2 separate regions of the Homo sapiens genome follow, and region 1 is linked to region 2. The links are contacts of gene promoters, found by promoter capture Hi-C in human tissues and cell types (Jung and others, 2019). All regions are on one chromosome and are shown on one strand. The core of a region is centred on a gene start or on the middle of the fragment in contact, and the rest is flanking DNA. Distances in the headings are between cores, read along the strand shown. Region 1 overlaps NSD1 (nuclear receptor binding SET domain protein 1). Region 2 holds the start of ZNF346 (zinc finger protein 346).

The links. Contacts are between HindIII fragments. The study calls those that stand out against the background at their distance.
Region 1: a contact is called between a fragment that was not itself captured here and the fragment with the promoter of ZNF346 in region 2, in 1 of the 25 tissues and cell types used here (dorsolateral prefrontal cortex).

What each region holds. Positions count from the first base shown.
Region 1 is chr5:177,236,424-177,239,703 of GRCh38, reverse strand. It overlaps NSD1 (nuclear receptor binding SET domain protein 1), which reads right to left. Exons shown (of 23, transcript NM_022455.5): 7 at 1,197-1,467. Among named protein-coding and RNA genes, the nearest start is that of RAB24, 66 kb to the left of the region's middle. The HindIII fragment of the contact is 9,664 bases long and covers 1-3,280 here.
Region 2 is chr5:177,021,202-177,024,954 of GRCh38, reverse strand. It overlaps ZNF346 (zinc finger protein 346), which reads right to left and starts at 2,259. Exons shown (of 7, transcript NM_012279.4): 1 at 2,042-2,259. The coding sequence starts at 2,216. It also overlaps a transcript of UIMC1 not described here. RefSeq lists enhancers at 1,481-2,017, 2,445-2,494, 2,018-2,555 and a silencer at 1,895-2,044. The HindIII fragment of the contact is 9,260 bases long and covers 1-3,753 here.

The sequences.
Region 1 (3,280 bases), core at 1-2,500, 220 kb before region 2:
ATTTTTAAAAAATCTGTATACCACACAAAATGAATCTCAATGTTTTTGATGTTTTCCCCGTCATCTTATGGGAAGAGGCAGGATGGTAATTTGCTTATTATAAAATATTAGTAAACAAAACAAGTAAACAGTTTTCAATGCAAGCACCAACTAATGTGAGGGATGTGTGTGTGGTGACTTTAACTCACAAAATCACTAAGGGAGAAGTCAGAAGGACGGAACTGCCTTTATAACAACTGATTGTTGGTGAGGATAAAATAAGGAGAAGTGGAGTGAAATAGAACTTGGATCATGGTCATAAATGGACAAAGATTATAGTTTCTGCTCTGCCCCTAAGTAAATAAAATTCAATAGGTAAAAGATAATTCATAGGATCACTCAAGAATAATATAAAAGAGCTGACTTAATAGAGTTTTGGCACATAGTAGGTACTGAAATAATAACTATCTTTACTGTTCTTTCAAAAATCTTTTTTATTATACCCAACTAGTTTAAGCACAATTGGAATCGTTTCTTTAAGGAATAACATCAAAAGCTACTGTTGATAATGTAAAAAAGTTATATCCAAAATTTAAAGGGGTACAGAAAAGAGGATTCTTGCCATTCCTTGACTGACTATAATATTCAATAGTTACAAGGTGAATTAGAGACAATATGTTTAGATCCAACTCTCCCCAGGTGATATATAAAGAATGATCAAGTGAGAAGTAACTGGTAATTAACTTCTAATGAACTGGTAATTACTATGTTGTCAGGTATATAACATTACACATTAATACATTATGATCTCCATTTATAGATGAGGAAACAAGTTCAGAGATTAAACAACTTCCCAAGTAACACAAGGATTGGTGGAGCCAGCACTTGAAGCATAGTGCTTATTCCACTAATGTGCAGTACTCCTCTTGAAGCCCTGTTATCCTGGTTGTTAATTTACACAGTGGCTGATCAACAATCATGAAGAGCAACACTGGAGCAAGGAGCATAGTTATTAAAAATACATCTTCTTGATAGTGTGCCACAGTTCATGGTTAGTAACTATATCTAATTAACCATCATTTTAAGTATTTCCCAGGACAAAAGGGGGTAGTTTATTGTATATAGATACAATGTTGGCTTTACATCAAAACATACTAAAATCTCCTGCTTCCTCTAATCATATCTGCTCAAATACTGAGACCCCAACCCCACCTTACCTGGCGTTTTAACTAGCAATTCCTCAGACTCAAGGGCAGGCCGTGGAGAGACTTCCGGAGCCACAGGCACAGACAAGGTCAGCTGCGGCAACTCAGCATGTCCACCTCCAAGTTCTGACTGAGCCAAGGGGCCCTCCAAAAACGGAGCCTCCCTTTCAAGAACTGGAGGCTCTTCTTTGGTTGAAATCAAAGAATTCTCGTCCACCTGCTTGTTCTGAGCACTAGATCGACCTCGGGCTAGAAGGCTTTCCTCTTCACAGCGGGAACTTACCTAAGAACAAAAAATAAAAATAGAGTCCACAGGCCAAAATTGTTGTAATTTAAGTGTCAAAAAGAATAACACACTTTAAAAGGAATGAAATTCTGACAAAGGCTACAAAAAGTGGATGAACCTTGAAGACATTATGTATGCTAAGGGAAATTACTTAAGACACAAAGAACAAATATCGTATGATTTCAAGTATATGAGGTATCTAGAATAAGAAAATTCTTGAGACAGAAAATAGAATGGCAATTGCCAGGGGCTGAGCAGAAAAGGGAGTTATTGGTTAATGGGTATTGATTTTTAATTTGGAAAGATGAAAAAAATTATCGAGATGGATGGTGGAGATGGTTGCACAACAATCTAACTGTGCTTCATGCTACTGAACTGTACACTTAAAAATGGATAAAATAGGCTGGGCGTGGTGGCTCACGCCTGTAATTCCAGAACTTTGGGAGGCCAAGGCAGGCAGATCACGAGGTCAGGAGATCAAGACCATCCTGGCTACCATGGTGAAACCCTGTCTCTACCTAAAAATGCAAAAAATTAGCCAGGTGTGGTGGCGGGCACCTGTAGTCCCAGCTACTCGGGAGGCTGAGGCAGGAGAATGGTGTGAACAGGAGAGGCAGAGCTTGCAGTGAGCTGAGATCACACCACTGCACTCCAGCCTGGGCAACAGAGTGAGACTCCATCTCAAAAAAAAAAAAAAAAAAAGATAAAATAATAAAATTTACATTATATATATATATTTTTTTAACCAAAATTAAATGAAGTTGACTGAGATACACTGAAGCTATAATATTGATAAGTCCACAACAATAATTCAAAAGCAGGGGAAAGAGACTGCTCTAATGTCTCCAATTAAAACAACTACTAATGAACTCCTTAATGTTACAATTGGTAATTAATGGGAAAGAAAGAAGCACTTATTCTGCCTTTCAAGTATTTCAGGACAATAACAGAGTCCAATTAATGAAAGAGACTATCAGTTAATAAAAATAGAGAAAATAATAAAATCTGAAAGTCTTCATTTTGTAACCTCTAATAAAATTATTGATATAGGTAAAGATCTTCAACTGGGGTTTTCAAAAAACCATCAGGGAAGCTGGGCATGGTGGCCCACACCTGTAATCCCAACACTCTGGGAGGCTGAGGCAGAAAGATCACTGGAGCCCAGGAATTCGAGACCAGCCAGGGCAACATAGTGGGACACCGCCTCTACAAAAAAAATGTTGTCAAAAATTAGCCAGGTGTGGTAGTGTGCACCTTTGGTCCCAACTACTCAGGAGGCTGAGACGGAAACATTGCTTAAACCCAGGAGGTCAAGGCTGCAGTGAACCGTGTTCGTGCATCTCTGCACTCCAGCTTGGGCAAGACACTGTCTCAATTTTAAAAAAGAAAGAACAAACTGTCAGGGAATGGCTGATGGGAATAAAACATTTTTTAACCCTCTAATGTACAATATATTCCACATTATCATCTCTGATATAGTCTAGCTAAAAATGTTCAACTTTCAATCTATCAAACTGATAGGTTCTATCTTCCATTTGACAGAGAACAGGAGATAGAGAAAACAATCTAAGTGACACCTATGAGGAAGCAATTACACAAATACAGAAAGTAGATGACTTTATATGTCACTCTCTTATAGACATGATCATGATCATGAAAAAAGGGATTGTTCTGAATTCAAAGTGATTTGAGAACCATAACAACCAGTTACAATGAGCAGTCCTAGATTGAGTCCTGGTATGAATAATCCAAAGGTAAAGGTTAGGGGATAATTGATGAAATTTGAAAGACAGTTGATGTCAGATAAACA
Region 2 (3,753 bases), core at 1,010-3,509:
GTGCTAAGAGTAGAAAAAGGGTGAGTAGAACTTAATGTTGTAGGTGTCTACCTAGATTTCACATAAATGTGGGAGAAGTGAGAACAGGGAAATGAAATGGGTCATAACAGTGCCACTATACACTCATATACACATAGCAGACAGTTCACTTTTCAGAGCACAGTGGTTTTCTGCTTCAAGATCCAGGGCAAAGGTCACTTTCTTCTTGTGCACCTCCAACTCTTAAAACATTCCTCAGCACTGCATCCTTTACATTACACTGGAACTGTTTTGGTGTCTGCTTCCTGGACTAGACTGCAAGCCTTTCCAGGGCAAGGGCAGTATCTTCCTCTGATACTCCAGCTCTGAAGCTCAACCAGTTCCGGGTCCAGAGCAGGCATCAGTGAGTGTTTGTCAAGTTAATGAAAGGAAAATTGGGGTAGGGGAGGAAACTACCAAACAAGTGTGAAAGTAGGAGAGCCGGGTGCGGTGGCTCATGCCTGTAATCCCAGCACTTTGGGAGGTCAAGGCGGGCAGATCACTTGAGGTCAGGAGTTCGAGAACAGCCTGGCCAACATGGTGAAACCCCATCTCTACTAAAAATACAAAAATCAGCTGAGCGTCATGGCAGCAGCCTGTAATCCCAGCTACTCCGGAGGCTGAGGCAGTATAGAATTGCTTGAACCCAGGAGGCGGAGGTTGCAGTGTGATTGTGCCACTGCACTCCAACCTGGGTGACAGAGTGAGACTCTCTCAAAAAAAAAAAAAAAAAAAAGGAGAGAGGGCCCCAGAAATAGTGTGTGTGTGTGTGTGTGTGTATACATAAAATACTTACAAGTGTATATAAAAATATATATACAGATTTATGTGTGTATATATTATATATATACATTTATGTGTGTGTATATTATATATACGCATACACACACACCATTTCTGGGGCCCTGTCTCCTTCTTTTTTATATATAATATACATTATATATATATATAAACTTAGGAGACAGGCTAGACTTGTTTTTAAATTGGAGAAGTATATACCAGGGTATAGGTCTGTGTACCTTCCTTAGATATGGTCAAAATTTCAATTTTATCCAATTTTATCCAGGGCAGTCAGTTCACAAATAGCATATTAAACTTTCGAAGACAAGTCTGCTCAGCAAGCAAACAAATCACTGGAGAAATCTGATTTCCCTCCAGATACCTGACAAGGTTAGCAGAGAAGCCCAGATAGAGTTCTTGTACATCTGGGTTAGCATCAAGCAGCTGGCTCTGTAAAGGACAGTGAAGGGAGTCACACAAGCAGGTCAGGACAGCTCTTTTCCATCCTTCTCTTTCTTTCATCCCATCTTACCCAGTCTCAGGTCAAGTGCAGAGCAAGCTGGGGCGCTTCGGCCCAGGAGTGACCCCTAACGTGGCTTTGCATACACTGTTCTCAGCAACTTTGGGTCAAGTGTAGGACACAAAGAAGCTGGAGCCAAAGCAAACCCAGACCAGTTTCTCAGGCTCCTTGTCCCCACCTTAGAATAAGGGACCCAGCAAGTAGAGGCCAGAGAGCTAAAAACGGGTAAGCCAGGGCTCAGTCATCAAGACCAGGAGGAACCCAGGGGGTAAGGAGAAGGCCTTCCAGAGCCCTCGGAAGTGTGGGGCTTGAGAGAAGGGAGGCGAGAGGCCCTAGGAGGAAATCTGGAGATTGGGACGATGGGGAGTCAAGGAGTGGTGAGGGGCACTCGGCTTGGCTTACCGGGATGGCAAAGACTGTAGGTCTCCGACAGGACGAGTATAGGGATGACAGTCCTCGAATGTGGGAAAAACTGCGCTGTAGTGAATGATGAAGGAGGAGGAGGAAAACCCAGGGCCTGAGCGTGAGCGGCCCTTCACCCTCAGCGCGCTGGGGGCCCGATTCTTGGGGTGCCCGCGCCCGGATGGGGAGCACAAGTCTGGGGGTCCCGGGGCGCAGCACGCAAGGAGGCGGGCCAGGGGGTGTGACCGTCGGCGCTTCCGCAGTTCCCCGCGAGCCGCGCAGCGGGCGAGGGGCTTTCTGCCTCCAAAGCCCCCGACTCACCTTCCTCTCTACCCACCGGCTGGGCACCGGACACGGCTTCCCACAGGCGGCGCGCCCTCTCGCGGTCAAAGCGCACCCCGTCCGGCTCCTGGCCCTCCAGCAACTCCGAGCTGCTGTAAGGCCCGGCCGCTCCGCCGTCCGCGGCCTGCACCGTGGCCGGCGCGGGATACTCCATCTTCCCCGCAAACCCTCACCGGTAGAGAGCCTCTCAGGCGCCTAGGTATCGCGAGATTTGGTGGGTGGTACTTGGCCCAGCCAACAAATCTCGCGAGGTTTGGGCGCTGCACCCGCGCTGCCGTGCGGGACCCCGCGCTTATTTTGCTTTGCTACCTCTGGTACCTCAGAGCGTGTGCCGTGGATTCGGAAACCTGTCGCTGATTCCGCAGCAGTGACCCCCCCCTCCCGGAGAGGCTCGTGTGGTTTTGGCTCATGGCTCTCACCTTGCTCACGGTCAGCCCTTGATACTTTTCATTTCGTTCTCAAGGTCCCGTTATGTGGGAGTGTTTTCGCCATTTCATTCACAGGGAAACTGAGGCCCAGAACCTAAAAATGGTTAACTCAAGAGCTCGCTACTAGTAAGTAGTAGTACAGCTAAGGTTCCATATTACTGCTAATAATACATACTATTTGTTGAGTTCCAAGTGCCAGCTCCCAGCTCTGATCTTCCCCGAGACTCCGGACCTGTATACATCCAGTTGCCTCTTCCACAGTTCACTCGAATGGCTAATAGGCTTCTCCAATGTAGCTGTCAGACCCCAAATTTTATCTTCCAACCCCAGAGCTGCTCCTTCCCGTGTCTTTGGGAGCCACCATCTCTTGCCTAGGTTATTGTAGTAGCAACCTCACTGGCATTCCCAGCACAGCAGTTCCAGGAATCCTCTTATGACAAGTCAGATCATGACGCTTAGGTTCTCAAATCCTCCAACAGCTTCCCATCTCACTCTTAGTAAAAGCCAAAGTCCGGCCAGGCGCGGTGGCTCACGCCTGTAATCCCAGCACTTTGGGAGGCTAAGGGGGGGCGGATCACCTGAGGTCCGGAGTTCGAGACCAGCCTGACCAACATGGAGAAACCCCGTCTCTACTAAAAATACAAAATTAGACGGGTGTGGTGGCACATGCCTGTAATCCCATCTACTCGGAGGCTGAGCCAGGAGAATGGCTTGAACCCGGGAGGCAGAGGTTGCTGTGAGCCGAGCTGGCGCCATTGCACCCCAGCCTGGGCAACAAGAGCGAAACTCCGACTAAAAAAAAAAAAAGCCAAAGTCCTTACTTCGACCAACAAGGCCCTGTACAATCTGACTTCCCTTAACCTCCCTGATCCTGATGTGTTACTCAGTCCCCAACTCCTTAATTCCTGTCCCAGTTATCCAGGCCTCCTGGGGTGAATTTCTCTCATATATCTTCATGGCTCAGTCTCCCACTTCCTTCTCTGGCTACTCTATCTAAAATACCTTGTCTGGCTATCCCATCTAAAATGTTACTTTTCCACACACACTTCATGTCCTTCTTTCCTGCTTTATTTCTTTTATATTTTACCTTTTATCTTGCTTATTGTCTGTCTCCCGACTAGAAGGCAAGCCCCAGGAAGGCAGGGATTTTTGTCTCTTTTCTTTTCTTTCTTTTTTTAAATTGTTTTTGAGGCAGAGTTTTGCTCTGTCGCCAGGTTGGAGTGCAGTGACGCGATCTCGGCTCACTGCAGCTTCCGTCTCCCG